Linked DNA regions of Homo sapiens: regions 2 and 3 are each linked to region 1. The links are contacts of gene promoters, found by promoter capture Hi-C in blood cells and fetal thymus (Javierre and others, 2016). All regions are on one chromosome and are shown on one strand. Each heading gives the region's core, a stretch centred on a gene start or on the middle of the fragment in contact. The rest is flanking DNA. Distances are from core to core; before and after follow the strand shown.

What was found. The method cuts DNA at HindIII sites, captures the fragments that hold promoters and counts their contacts. A CHiCAGO score of 5 or more calls a contact.
Region 2: the fragment with the promoter of UBE2Z here is called in contact with the fragment with the promoter of CBX1 in region 1 in 1 of 17 cell types (M2 macrophages); the score reaches 5.8 in M2 macrophages.
Region 3: a contact is called between a fragment that was not itself captured here and the fragment with the promoter of CBX1 in region 1, in 2 of 17 cell types (total CD8 T cells and megakaryocytes). The highest score is 5.5, in total CD8 T cells.

What each region holds. Positions count from the first base shown.
Region 1 is chr17:48,099,332-48,104,158 of GRCh38, reverse strand. It overlaps CBX1 (chromobox 1), which reads left to right and starts at 2,681. Exons shown (of 5, transcript NM_001127228.2): 1 at 2,681-2,891. RefSeq lists enhancers at 2,263-2,522, 2,349-2,948 and a silencer at 2,893-2,942. The HindIII fragment of the contact is 8,551 bases long and covers 1-4,647 here.
Region 2 is chr17:48,905,607-48,910,433 of GRCh38, reverse strand. UBE2Z (ubiquitin conjugating enzyme E2 Z) reads right to left here and starts at 2,027. Exons shown (of 7, transcript NM_023079.5): 1 at 1,614-2,027. The coding sequence starts at 1,930. It overlaps LOC105371814 (a long non-coding RNA gene), which reads left to right and starts at 1,451. Exons shown (of 4, transcript NR_135674.1): 1 at 1,451-1,495. RefSeq lists enhancers at 246-295, 316-365 and silencers at 1,239-1,368, 1,639-1,888. The HindIII fragment of the contact is 3,469 bases long and covers 1-2,599 here.
Region 3 is chr17:48,645,264-48,650,090 of GRCh38, reverse strand. It overlaps LINC03057 (long intergenic non-protein coding RNA 3057), which reads left to right and starts at 3,239. Exons shown (of 2, transcript NR_186590.1): 1 at 3,239-3,486. LINC02086 (long intergenic non-protein coding RNA 2086) reads right to left here. Exons shown (of 8, transcript NR_189645.1): 1 at 3,729-4,827. RefSeq lists enhancers at 2,446-2,655, 3,546-3,595, 3,034-3,702 and a silencer at 3,146-3,325. The HindIII fragment of the contact is 5,086 bases long and covers 224-4,827 here.

The DNA of each region.
Region 1 (4,827 bases), core at 1,432-3,931:
TGCTTGAACCTGGGAGGTGGAGGTTGCAGTGAACCGGATCATGCCACTGCACTCCAGCCTGGGTGACAGAGTTAGACTCCGTCTCAAAAAATAATAATAATAATAAATAAATAAAATAAAATAAAAAATAAACCAGAAGTGGTGGCTCACGCCTGTAATCTTAGCACTTTGGGCGGGTGGATGCCTGAACTCAGGAGTTCAAGACCAGCCTGGGCAACATGGTGAAACCCCCGTCTCTACTAAAATACAAAAAAATTAGCTGTGCATGGTGGCATGCACTTGTAATCCCAGTTACTTGGGAGGCTGAGGCAGGAGAAGTGCATGAACCCGGGAGGCGGAGGTTGCAGTGAGCCGTGATCTTGCCATTGCACTCCAGCCTGGGCGACAGTGCAAGACTCCACCTCAGGGAAAAAAAACAAAAAAAGCACTCATTAATAGTAGCTAATTATCATTACAACTAATTTTCTCATCATCATCAGTCAAAAACAGTACACTACAGGAGGAAGTGAGGAGATGCTTGCTTCTCACTTGCTTCTTCCTAGAAACCCAGCCCAAATGTTTCAGGAAGAATTGCTCTCTTTGTGTCCGGAGTTGATTCCTTCCGGTGGGTTTGTGGTCTCCCTGACTTAAACAATGAAGCCGCGGACCTTCATGGTGTTAAAAACAGCTCTTAAAGCTGGCAGGGACCCAAAGAGTGAGCAGCAGCAAGATTTGTTGTGAAGAGCGAAAGAACGCGAAAGAACAAGGCTTCCATAGCGTGGAAACCGACCTGAGCAGGTTGCTGCTGCGGGCTAACAGGAATGGGTGGGGGGCAGGGGGCCAGCTTTTACACCCTTGTTTGTCCCTGCCCATTTGCTATTTCTGTCCTATCAGAGTGCCCTTTTTTCAATCCTCCCTGTGATTGGCTACTTTTAGATTCCTGCATTTTACAGAGCGCTGATTGGTGCATTTTGCAGAGTGCTGATTGGTGCATTTTACAATCCTCTTGCTAGCTACAGAGGGCTGATTGGTGTGTTTTTACAGAGTGCTGATTGGTATATTTTACAATCCCCTTGCTAGGTATAGAGCGCTGATTGGTGCATTTCACAATCCTCTTGTAAGACAGAAAAGTTCTCCAAGTCCCCACTCGACCCAGGAAGTCCAGCTGGCTTCACCTCTCATCTTCTCTGTGCTTTCTTGAAGCCCTTTTAACTAAACTCTATTATGATATTGCTGGGCTGGGTTTTTCTTACATGACAGTTCTCCAGAGCCGTGAACAGTGCCTGCATCAGCAAAACTGTCTTATAAATGCAAACTCCTGCCCTGAACAGTGCCTGCATCAGCAAAACTGTCTTATAAATGCAAACTCTTGCCTTTTGGGGTAGAGTGCAATAGAGTTTCCCTCTTCCTCCTGATTAGAAGGATACTTTAAAATAAAAAAATAAAACTTTAGTTATATTGTGGCTTAAAAACATGTTTTTTTCCTAATTGTGTGTTTCCTTGGGATGATTGGGTGAAAGGTGCTGACGGAGATTAATGACACTGAAAAAGGTGAGCACAACTTACAATGAAAAAGAGGACATTTTTGTGGCGCAGCCAGTGAAAAGGGGGAAATTCAGGAAGCTATGAGAGGCCTATGGGGGGACCTAACCTACTCTAGGGAATCAGGGAAGACCTCAAAGGGGAAGTAATCTTAACACTGAACAGTATTTTTTTTTTTAGACGAAGTTTCGCTCTTGTTGCCCAGGCTGGAGTGCAATGGCGCGATCTCGGCTCACTGTAACCTCCACCTCCTGGGTTCAAGCGATTCTCCTCCCTCAGCCTCCCGAGTAGCTGGCACTACAGGCGCCCGCCACGACGCCCAGCTAATTTTTGTATTTTAGTAGAGATGGGGTTTCACCATGTTGGCCAGGCTGGTCTTGAAACCCTGACCTCAAGTGATCCACCCACCTCCGCCTCCCCAAGTGTTGGGATTATAGGCTTGAGCCACCGTGCCGGCGTGAGTAGGAATTTTACAGAGATTTGAGGAGGCAGAGATTGAGGACTAAGAAATCATTGGAAATTTGAGGCAGCGGCGATATGATAAAGTTCTGGTGAAGAATCTAAGATTCAAAAATTTTGAGGATGTGAATTACAGAACTGTCCAGAAGTGGTTGATTTTTTGGGGGCCAAGCATCAGGGGGCTCGCTTATAAAAATCATATGTTCTAATTTTTTTTTTTTTTTTTTTTTGAGATGGAGTCTCGCTCCATCGCCCAGGCTGGATCGCAGTGGCTGGATCTCGGCTCACTGCAAGCTCCGCCTCCCAAGTTCAAGCAATTCTTGTCTCAGCCTCCTGAGTAGCTGGGACTACAGGCACCTGCCACCACGCTCGGCTAATTTTTGCATTTTTAGTAGAGACAGGGTTTCACCTTGTTGGTAAGACTGGTCTCGAACCCCTGACCTCAGGTGATCCACCCGCCTCGGCCTCCCAAAGTGCTGGGATGACAGGCGTGAGCGACTGCCCCTGGCCCATATGTTCTAATATTCTAGGTTACAACGCTCTACGCTGCAATCTCTCCACCGTTACAGTTTAAAAACTATAAGTCCCTACCACCCTCGCCTACTGTGCGTGCGCGGCGCGCGGCGCTTCGGGCCTTGTAGTCTTGGACAGACCCCCGAGGCCCATGGTGCCGTGCGGCGGGTCGTTGCGCCTGCGCGGTGCGAGCGGCGGGCAGCGCAGACTGCGAGGCTCTTTTGTTCGGCTGAGGGGAGGGCCGTTGGCCGGGGCCTGCGGTACGCCGCTTCAGTGAGGGACGCCACTGCGGCCACCCGGCTTGCTGCCTTCCTGGGCGCCACTCCCCCAGGCGACCCGACGCGACGCGCCAGCAGCGCAGCACCGATTCCTCTCGGGCTCTTGGGCGCTGCTCTGAGGTGAGGAGCCCGCTGGAGGCGGGAGAGCTGGGGGAGGGGGCGCGGCGGCGGCGGCGGCGGGAGCCCTGCGTGAGGGAACGCGCTTTCGAGGCGGAGGTTAGGAGCGGGGAGCGCGCCCGGGTCCAGCGTCCTGCTTCTCCGCTTCCCGCGCTGAGCTCTTCGCCTGTCGCTGAGGCGTCGGTGCCAGCTGCGTGAAGGATGGAGAGGGCGGGGCGCGAATCCTGAGCCAGAGACTGAGTGCTTGGGGGTGGGCCGAGCACTTGGGGGCCGCTCTTCGGGGCCCGGGTGGTCTGGAACAATGTTGCTTGGCTGGGCGGCTGCGGGATAGGGCGGAAGGGGACAGGCTTGAGGCTTGGATAGGCGTGAGGAGGCGCATACGACCGCACAACCCGAGGTTTGTAACTGTATTCGGAAGACGCCGGGTCCGGCTGGGACTGCCAGAGGAACCTGGCTTTGCAGGACTACGGAGGAGTAACGTCGAGTGAATTGGAAGAGGGCCCAGGGCCGCACAAGGTGTGCTGATTGGAGGAGGAGATGTGTGGAATAAATTGGGAAAGGGGACACGGAGGGGGAGGGGCAGGCGTTTGCTGGGCCTGACTCTGGAAGGGGAGGAGCTGTTAGGATAAGTAGGGCGGAGATCCCGAGAATATTTCTATAAGGTATGTAAGAAAAAAGGGGAAAGCAGGCCGCCCTTGCATCCTGATGGGTCCTTACAGTGGGGAGGCTGTAAGAATAATGTGCGAAGAAAGGATGGAATACGCTTTTTTCAGTTTTCCAGGTTTCCTACTACCTTCACTCCATGATTCCTTTGGGGAGTTAAAAAAGTCCAAGTGCAGTTCTTGCTTTGATTCAAAATTAGTTCCGTACGTTTTTGTGTGGGATCGTAACTGGTCTCACAAAGGTGATGAAATTGTAAAAATATGTAGATGAGTTAATAGTTGAGGAACGGCGTGAGGTAGTGAGAGATTGTGAGATCGTGTGAGGTGCGAGAAATTGGGAGACATAGGAAAATTATGTGAGATTGTGAGGTAATATTTGTTTCGTGGGCCCTTCTGTTTTTAGCCAGCTTTTCCTTGTTGGAAAATTTGAATAGAGTGAGCTATATTTTACCTCTTTTTTTTTTTTTTTTTGAGAAGAGTCTTCCTCTGTTGCCCAGGCTGGAGTGCAGTGGTGCGATCTTGGCTCACTGCAACCTCCACCTCCCGGATTCATGCGATTCTCTTGCCTCAGCCTCCCGACTAGCTGGGATTACAGGCACACGCCACCACGCCCGGCTAATTTTTGTATTTTTAGTAGAGACGGGGTTTCACCGTACTGGTCACGCTGGTCTCGAACTCCTGACCTCGTGATCCTCCCGCGTCGGCCTCCCAAAGTGCTGGGATTATAGGCGTGAGCCACTGCGCCTGGCCATATTTTACCTCTTTTTCAAAGTTTCAAATGAGGGTTTTTCATAAATTGGTGTTACATTTAGACGTGTTGGTTTAACGCAATTGAGGTGGAATTTACAAAAAGTTCAGCTATAATCAGTTATATACTAGAACCCCTAGCCCAGGGTAAAGTAGCCTCCTCAATTGTGTTAAGAGTCACATCAGCAGTTTGGAAAGATTGTGAAAGGTCCAAGGCTTTGGAATAGATTCAGGAATACAATGGGGAAATTAATGCCGGTGTTCCTCCCTAGGTGCCTTATAGACTTTTATATGAAAGTGGTGTGATTGAAAAGCACTTGTATTGAAACCGGTGGCACCTTAATGAAGCTTCACGGGAGTGGAGGACCTGAAGTCGTTTACGGTTTTCCCTGTGGTGATATTTTTCTTCAATGGCTGCTGTATCCTAAATTGTTTCTCATTAAAAAAATAAATAGTAGGGTCGGGCGCAGTGGCTCAAGCCTGTCATCCCAGCACTTTGGGAGTCTGAGGTGGGCGGATCATGAGGTCAA
Region 2 (4,827 bases), core at 778-3,277, 810 kb before region 1:
CTAAATGAAGATTTTTTAGTAACTGGAAAGGCATCATCAACTCCACTAAAAAACTAATTCTATAAACTATACAGTGGACCTTTATTGGTAAGGGGATTGTATGAAGCAAGCCAGCCAGCAGAGAGTAAGACTATCATGGTGGCCTTCTTGCCCAGGGGTGTCTCAGGGTAGAGATCTCTTCAGGCTGGGGAGGGATCCTCAGAAATTGCTAAGAATCTCCCATCTGGAAGATGACATGTGGACTTCCATAGGAGATAAGATTTCTGACTCATATCTCACCAACTGGAATGGATCAGTTGAGAGCAAGGGGCTAAAGAACATTCTAGGTGGCGAAAAGCCTAGGGACTTGCTAGGGTGGGTAGGGACATAAAAAGGGCAAATAGGCGACAAAGCAGAGGAAAGCATTGGCCAAACTCAAAGGTATGTCAGAATTGGATGACTGAAATGGCTGGAGGAGGAAAAGAGTTGAGTGCTGAGTTTCAGTTAGAGGTGGCAATCCCTCCACAGTTGACCTCCTGTGTCAGGCACTGTGCCAGGTACTTTACACACATTATATTAATTTTTATTACAACCTTGAAAAGTAGACACAGAGACATCTGAAAGGACGTGGAACATGGGGAATAAGAACTAAACGAAGATGCTTGTGATGGGGGCATGGGGAGAAGTCAAACAGGTTTCAGGATTAATAGCTAAAGAGCACTGCCCTTTTCTTATGCGATAGGTACTATTCTATGTGCTTCTGGAAAACATCATCTACTAAATGATAGGATCTAAGATCAGTCACCCAAGAAATAAGCACAGAAAGGACTTAGGCCTTTGTTCCTATATTTGATGAGTATATTTGCTTCATAGAAGTAAAACAGACGACCCGGGGAGGGTGGGGGGTGGGGGGAGGGAAATTACAAGAAAGAAGCTCCTGAGTGGGATATTACAATCCAGAGTGGCACTGGGGAATTGGGGGGAGGTAGCCTGTGTTTCTGGAAGAGGCGTAAGAGTGGACAGCTTTGGGACACTGGAAAAGGGGTTCAAGGAAAGATTGGGGCGAGGGAAGCGATCTAGACCTGGGAAAAGACTGTGTGGAGGGAATCTGAGAAAAACGGAGGATAAAAAGAAAGGTTGGCTCGAGTCAGAGGCATGGCAAAGGAAGCTGAGTTCGTCTGTGTTAGGAACGGGGCTCCAGAGGAGAAGAGAGGGGACCGATGGGTGGGGCCTGCGGGCAGCATCTAGCAAGGTTGGGGTGGGGAAGGGGAAATAGGGGCGGCGCCGAAGGCGGGAGGGGGCGTTACTGAAGCGCTAAAGGGTCGGGTTTCCACCCGGAGGTGGGAGGTGTGGGGGAGGGTGGCCGGAATGGAGACGGAGGGCTCACGGGAGGTTGTCGAGGGGCGGGGTCGGATCTGGGCACACGAGGCGGGGGTTGGTGCTTGCGGGTCTGAGGGTGGGGGGAGAAGGGAGTTGGATCCCGACGCCCGGAGCTGGCAAGATTTGGGCCGTGGAGGTGGGCCGCCGCGAGGGCAGCGCAGTGGGTGGGGGGTGAGTTGTAGTGGGAGAGGGTGGGGGGCGGGGAAGGTCGAGCCCCGGAGCTCGGGGCTGGGGGAGGAAAAACCCCGGCTCACCGCTTGATCCGGAGTAGACACTGCGGCGCGGTGCGCTCGCCGTCCCAGTCGGAGCTGAGCGTGGGGTCCCAGTGGCTAAGCAGCGCGGCCCCGTGGGCAGCGGCTGAGGGCGGGAGCCCGGGCAGCGGAGCCAGGCCGCTCCCCGGGCCCCCGGCCCCGCCCGCTGCCGCCGCCGCCGCCCACACATCCGGCAGGAAAGGCGGCCCGAACCCGCCGCCGCTGCCGCTAACGCCAACAACACCAGCAACGCTGCTCGCCCCGGGGCCCGCCGCCCCGGCGCCCGCCGTTGCCGCCTCCTCAGTCGGACTCTCCGCCATCGCTGCTTCGCTTCCGGGACTACTCGGCAGCACGTCCGCCGACCAGAGCGGCCGCTGCTCCCGCCCGCTCCCGCACCACCGAGAACCGGGCCAGAGTGTCCCCACCCCCTCCGCTTCCACAGCCCAGACGGTGCTGGCTCCGCCCACCCCCGCCCCAACCAGCGAGAGGCGCTCTGCAAGAGCGTCCACCTACGGTCCTCCAGGACGGGAGGGGTGGGAACTAGCAGGCCGTGATGGTTCTGGGCTCGTGTGGGTCCTGCGCTGTGCGGAAGTAGCGGAGAGCCCAATTCAAGTGTTGAAAGGGGAGAAGAGAGGAGGGAGTGGGGGAGGAAGGGCCATATCATTCCCGTTAATGGCGGCGACCCTCAGACGTCTGCATGGTTAGGATTGGGGATCCAGCATCCTCATGGGAAGCTCAGTAGAGAAGTTGACTCGCTTTGGGCCCCTTCTCTCGGAAAGGCTCTGCGATTGATCCCTCCTGCACACTTGTGCACCTAGGGCAGGGTACCATTGCCCTTGCCTGCAACAGGACCAAGAGAGAACTCAACTTGGAATGAAAAGCTACCTCTTTTAGAGTTTATTCAACATATATTTATGAAGGGCCTACTAAATGCCAGTCACTGTTGCTAGTTGTTGCCATGGGGATAATGAAACAGAACTAGAGAAGCTTGGTGAAAGGAAGAAACATCAGGCCTCCTGACTCCAAGCTTAGTACTTTTTCTTCCCACAAATCTTGGAATATACAGGAATCGAGGTACTGTGAGTGTAAACCCTGAGGATTCTTTGGGTCTTTCCTAAAATGTTTAAAGTGAAAAATAATCTGCCAGGCTCGGTGGCTCACGCCTGTAATCCCAGCACTTTGGGAGGCCGAGGTGGGCGAATCACGAGGTTAGGAGTTCGAGACCAGCCTAACATGGTGAAACCCCGCCTCTATTAAAAATACAAAAATTAGCCGGGCGTGGTGGCGTGCACCTGTAGTCCCAGCTACTCAGGAGGCTTAGGCAGGTGGATCACTTGAACCCGGGAGGCGGAGTTTGCAGTGAGTTGAGATCACGCCACTGCACTCCAGCCTGGGCGACAGAGCCAGACTCCGTCTCAAAAAAAAAAAAAAAAATTCCTATGGACTAAGAATGACAGGGGCCTTCCTAAAAAACTGTTTTTCCTTGCCGGGCGCGGTGGCTCATGCCTGTAATCCCAGCACTTTGGGAGGCTGAGGCGGGCGGATCACTAGGTCAGGAGATCAAGACCATCCTGGCTAACACTGTGAAACCCCGTCTCTACTAAAAATACAAAAAATTAGCCGGGCGTGGTGGCGGGCGCCTGTAGTCCCAGCTACTCGGAAGGCTGAGGCAGGAGAATGGCGTGAACCCGGGAGGCGGAGCTTGCAGTGGGCGGAGATCGTGCCACTGCACTCCAGCCTGGGCGACAGAGCAAGACTCCGTCTCAAAACAAAAACAAAAACTTTTTTCCCTAGCAAAAATATAGGATCAATATTAACTGGAAACCAGTGGGGCCAGATGTATTTCAGACTTTGGAATGACACACCAAGCAAGGAGTGGGGCAGCGCCGGGTAGCCAAACCTATTGACATTTCTGCATCAAAGTGTATGAACATTCGTACCAAGTCAAATGAATAGCCTCACTTTGGATGTTTTGCCACCAAGTTTGGTTTTTTAAAAAAGAAGTCTGGGCCGGGCACGGTGGCTCACGTCTGTAATCCCAACAATTTGGGAGGCCGAGGTGGGTGGATCACCTGAGGTAAGGAGTTCGAGACCAGCTTGACCAATATGGTGAAACCCCGTCTCTACTAAAAATACAAAAATTAGCCGGGTGTGTTGGCAGGCGCCTGTAGTCCCAACTACTCAGGAGGCTGAGACAGAAGAATCACTTGAACCCGGGAAGGAGAAGTTGCAGTGAGCCGAGACTGAGTCACTGCACTCCATCCTGGGTAAAAGAGTGAGACTCCGTCTCAAAAAAAAGAGTCTGGCTTTAGAGTTTTTTTGTTTTTTGTTTTTTGTTTTTAAAGAGGGAATCTTGCTCTTGTCACGCAGGCTGGAGTGCAATGGCGCAATCGTGGCTCACTGCAATCTCCGCCTCCTGGGTTCAAACAATTCTCCTGCCTCAGCCTCCCCAGTAGCTGAGATTACAAGCATGCCTCTATGCCTGGCTAATTTTTTGTATTTTTTTAGTAGAGGCGCCTCTACGCCTGGCTAATTTTTTGTATTTTTTTAGTAGAGGCGAGGTTTCACCATGTTGGCCAGGAAGGTCTCCAACTCCTTTTGGAGTTGGATCAAGTCATCCGCCCTTCTCGGTCTCCCAAAGTGCTGGGATTACAGAAGTCATCCACCCACCCCACCCTTCCTGCCTTTTAGAGTTTTATGAATTTACAGTAATGGAATGCAGACCTGAAGGATAATGACCAAGATTTATGGAGAGCTAAAGATTGATTTGTTTTGAGACAGGGTCTTGCTCTGTCACCCAGACTGGAGTGCAGTGATGGGATCACAACTCACTGCAACCTCTGCCTCAGCCCTCCAAGTAGCTGGGATTACAGACACGTGCCACGATGCCCGGCTAATTTTTGTATTTTTCTGTAGAAGCGAGGTTTCACCATGTTGCCCAGGTTGGTCTCGAACTTCTGGGCTCAAGCAGTCCTTCCGCCTTGGCCTCCTAAAGTGCTCGGGATTACAGGCGTCAGCCACCGTGCTTGGCCTAAAAAATTATTTTTTTAGCAGACATTTATTGAGTGTTTAATATGTGGCAGGCATTTTGTATACTTTGGCTTTATTCCTTTCAACACTCAGTGAAGTAGTAGGTACTATTATTTATTTATTTTTATTTTTTTTTTGGTTTGGAGTCTTGCTCTGTCGCCCAGGCTGGAGTGCAGTGGCGCGATCT
Region 3 (4,827 bases), core at 1,517-4,016, 550 kb before region 1:
AACAAGGTTAAGATGGTAAAATTTATTATATGTTTTTACCACAATTTTTTAAATGTACAAAAAAAAAAAAAAAAAACAACTCCGAAAAGCAAACAAGCAAAAAACCTCATTGCAAGATTACCACAAACCCACCAGAATGAAGAGAGACAGTGTCAGGTGTTGGTAGGGATATGCAGTAACTGGATCCTGAGTCCTCTCTGTCATTTTTTTTTTTTGTAAAGCTTACTTCTCTATGGATCTCACACATTACTAGTGGGAGTGTAAACTGGTCAACCACTTTGGAAAACTGTCATTATTTAACAAACAAACATTTTCCTACTCTGTTATCCAGCATTTCCACTCCTGGGTCTCCAAGTCCAGGCATCCATCAAAAGACACAGATGTAATGTTCATAACAGCTTTTTCATTATAGCTCCAAACTGAAAATAACCCTTAAGTCCACCAAGAGCCAAACAGGTTAAATACATTGTAATATATTCATACAACTAATATGACACAATGATAAAATGAATGAACTGCTGCCATATACAACACCATGGATGAGTCCCACACAAGTAATACTGAGCAGATGAAGCCAGACAAAAGAATACATACTTATGTTTATATGAAGTTGAAGGATTAGACAAAACTAATCTATGGTGATAGAAAGCCAAATAATTGTTAGGGGGTATGGAGGGATTGACCAGAGAGCTATTGATTGGTAGGAGTTACAATGGGGCCTTCTGGTAAGCCGGAAACATCTTGATCTAGGTGGTGGTTACACAGATGGGATCTATGCAAAAATATATTGAGCCAGAGGTTTAATATTAGGTTCTATAATACTATATATCAACAAAAAGTGAAGAAAAAGTAGAAAAATAGACCCAAATAGAAAAAATTCTGGGGCCGGGCATGGTGGCTCACGCCTGTAATCCCAGCACTTTGGGAGGCTGAGGCGGGCGGATGACCTGAGGTAGGGAGTTCGAGACCAGCCTGACGAACTGGAGAAACCCCATCTCTACTAAAAATACAAAATTAGCTGGGCGTTGGCCGGGTGCAGTGGCTCATGCCTGTAATCTCAGCACTTTGGGAGGCTGAGGCGGGCGGATCACCTGAGGTCGGGAGTTCGAGACCAGCCTGACCAACATGGAGAAACCCCGTCTCTATTAAAAATACAAAAAATTAGCTGCGCATGGTGGCACATGCCTGTAATCCCAGCTACTAGGGAGGCTGAGGCAGGAGAACCCGGGAGGCAGAGGTTGCGGTGAGCTGGGATTGTGCCATTGCACTCCAGCCTGGGCAACAAGAGCGAAACTCTGTCTCAGAAAAAACAAACAAACAAAAAAACAAAAACAAAACAAAACAAAAACATTTTGGAAGCAAAATTTAGTTTTGTCATATTTCTATATTCATGTTTACGTGGATATAGAATAAAATTCCCATTTGGATGCATTTTTCTCTCAGCGGTTCAAGCTCAACAGAACCTGCAAATGAGAGGAGGCTGCAGAAGCAAAGCATAAGAAGACATATCATGGCTAGGAGCCGTGGCTCACACCTCTAATCCCAGCACTTTGGGAGGCTGAGGCAAGCGGATCACCTGACGTCAGGAGCCGAGACCAGCCTGGCCAACATGGTGAAAACCCGTCTCTACTAAAACTACACAAATTAGCTGGGCGTGGTGGCACACACCTGTGGTCCCAGCTACTCGGGAGGCTGAAGTGGGAGAATCGCTTGAACTCAAGAGGCGGAGGTTGCAGTGAGCCGAGATTGCACCATTGCACTCCAGCCTGGGTGACAGATCAAGACTTCATCTCAAAAAAGAAGACACATCAATCCTAAATCTAAATGTGGTACACACCTAGGAAGACACATCAACCTTAAATGTACACACCTAATAACAGAGCTTCAAAAATATATGAAGCACCGAAAATGATAGAATTGAAAGGAGAAATGGACAAATCCACAATTATAGTAAGATATTTCAACAGTTCTCACTTGGTAAAATCACTTGTAAAATCACTCTGCCCATTTTACAGAGGAAAAACTGAGGCCTAAAAGGAGAAGGGGTGGGGGCTGAAGTCAGTGGCAGAGCCAGGCTTAGGACACAGAGCTCAGGCACACCTCTACATGCCCCCTGGACAACCACCTGCAGGAAGGGACTGGATTGTGAGGGGGTGTCCCCAGTCCCATGCAGGTTGAGGAGGAAGCAGGGTCTCAGGGCTGAGGTCAGGGAGGGGGGGCACTCCTTAGAGACCAGACAGCCAGGAATGCCACTGTTTGTCGTAGTTTCACTGATTTTAAGGAGGTTAAACCTCTATTTGGGTCTCAGAAATAAAGAGAAGAGCCTGCAATTCCAGGATAGCACGCTAACGAAGGGCCAAAACGCAAAGGCGTCCTGAGGGCTAAGATGGAAAGTGAAACTTTCAAGCTCCTTCTCTAACCTTGGCCAAGGTCGTTCCCTCTGGGTTCATAGAATAGGGAGGAACCCATGTAAGGCACAGGGAACAGAAGAAAGGAGGCAGGTAGAGGGACAACCTTCAGCCTGGTGCAGCCATCCCGGTCGAACAACCCCAGGCAGGAGCCGCTCGGTGGCCGAGGATGGCGGGAAGTCGCTGGGCTGCGGCTGGGGCGGGAGGTGGGCGGAGGAGGGTCCGGCGCTCTCTTTCTCCGGATTCGGAGCCCTAAGTGTGGATCAGTCGCCTCCCGCCCAGGGTGTGAGCGCCCCCTCCCCTTCTCAGCCTCCTTCGGCCTCGCCCCTCCCTCTCACATTTCCAACTCCCAAGGATAACTTGTCGCTCGCTTCAGACGCCCATGGCTTCTTTCAGCCCCTGGGACTCAGCTTTCTCCTCTACCTCTTTTGTCTATTTGTGCATTTGATGTTTCTCTGGGCGCGCCCTTGGATCTGCTTCTCTCTTGCCTTTTATATTCTCATATTCTCATATTCTCTCTCTCTCTCTCTCTCTCTCTCTCTCTCTCCCTCCCTCCCTCCCTCCCTCTCTCCCTCCCTCTCTCCCTCTCTGCCTCTCTCCCTCTCTCTCTCTTCTCTCTCTCTCTCTCTTCTCTCTCTCTTCTCTCTCTCTCTGCTCTCTCCGGCCATCTGGGCGCTGCTCCTCCGCGCCTCTGGCCTCCCCGCGGCGCGCCAGGCCCATCTCCTCACCAGCCGCTCTGGGATCCGACGGCGCCGTGGGTGGGGGCAGGTGAGACGGCCGAGCCCCGCCCGGGCGGAGGCAGGAAGCGCTCTCGCCTATCCCCCTCCCGGACCCTGTCCTCGCCCGCCACTCACCGGCGCCAGGGGAACGCAGGAGCGTGAGCCCCTTCGCGCCCCCAGCGCCGTCGGCGTCGCTGCCCCAGACACAGACACTGCCTCGAGAGGCCTCACAGAGGCGGGGGCAGAAGGCGGCGACCCAGAGCCGCCACATCCCCCGCCTTGGGCGCCGTCACAGTCCCCAGACGCCCTGGACTCCTGCAGTCTACGAAGACGCGCGGGGGACGGCGTGGTTCCGAGAGGTAGGTGAGGAGGCGGGCGCAGCCCTTCCTCTCGCAGCTGGGGACTGCGGCGTGAAAGGCCCCTCTCCAAGCTGGGCAGCCCCGTGGCCCGAGCTTTCAGGACCAACCGCCCGTGGCAGGCGTGGGCTTCCCGGGGCCACCGGCTTAACCTTGATCTCCAGACCGAGGCAGCTTCCCGGGTAGGGCCTCGGGGCGCACCCGAAAACGCCTTGGCCTCCCTGTCCGCTGGCACCCGACCCTACCTCTCCAACAGGTGTGTGTGTGGGGAAAGGGGGTCGCCTCCCCTCGTTCTACCGGAAACCCTGGCTCCCCAGAGCCGAGTGCTCAGTGCCCCGCCCAGCCTGAGGCCCTGCGTCCTGGGCCTCCTGCTCACAACCCCGGATTCCAGGCGGATGCCGTGAGAGAGGCAAGGGCCAGACGCCCTGAGCAGCCTTGGGGGTGAGGAATCGCTTGGGATGGAAGAAGGGCCACTTTTCCTAACGGAAATTAGGAATTGGCCTGGAACTCTTGGTCTAGACAGAAGCCCCCAGCTCCCCAAGGTGCAGAATCAGCTCTCCCGCGCGCTGTCTCTCTAGCTGCCTCCTGGCGTGGAGGGGGCAGAATACTTGGGGGAGTCTCTTGCTTTGGCTTTTGGGGGCCTCATAGGTTTTCTTCCCCTCTGGACTGTGAGCAGCCTCCTGCCTGAGAGAGCGTGTATCTGAATCTAAGGAATGCCAGGAGACGCCATCTTATTTGAAACCCACACTCACAAAAACGGGGCATGTGCATTTTTGTGGAGGGACCTGTTGTTTATGGGAGTGGGCAGAGGGCATCCAAAGGATTTCAAACTGTATGGACTGACTCATGGGTCAATACAAAAATTATTCGCCTTTGAAAAGGCATGTAAAGAAAAGCAAGCATAAAGGGGTGTGCATCGTGCATCGTGGGTATTGTGGAGTCTGAGAGGAATTAGTAACTCGCCGGAGTCGGCTAGGAATCTTATATGACAGCAACTGTGCCTCTCGGAGTAGTCAAGCACCGTTTAAAGATTGAGGATTTATACAGACATGCGAAAGAGATGTGAAATTATGTGCTCCCAACTGTGCTCAATAATAAAGGCAGTAGAAGGGAAATTCATATTTTCATCTATATGCCTCCCCCCTCGCAAAGTAGAACATTGCATGGTATATTTCACATAGTCCACATACCAGAGGCGGAATGTGCAACTGACTGCCCAGGACTGTGCTTTCCAGTACAAATGGAAGCACAAAGATGCCTAATGGAGAAGAGTTAAGTGAAAGTTCTCTTTTCTCAGTGCACTTCCCTAACCCTTTGAGGAAGCAAGTCTGGGGGGCCTTTCCT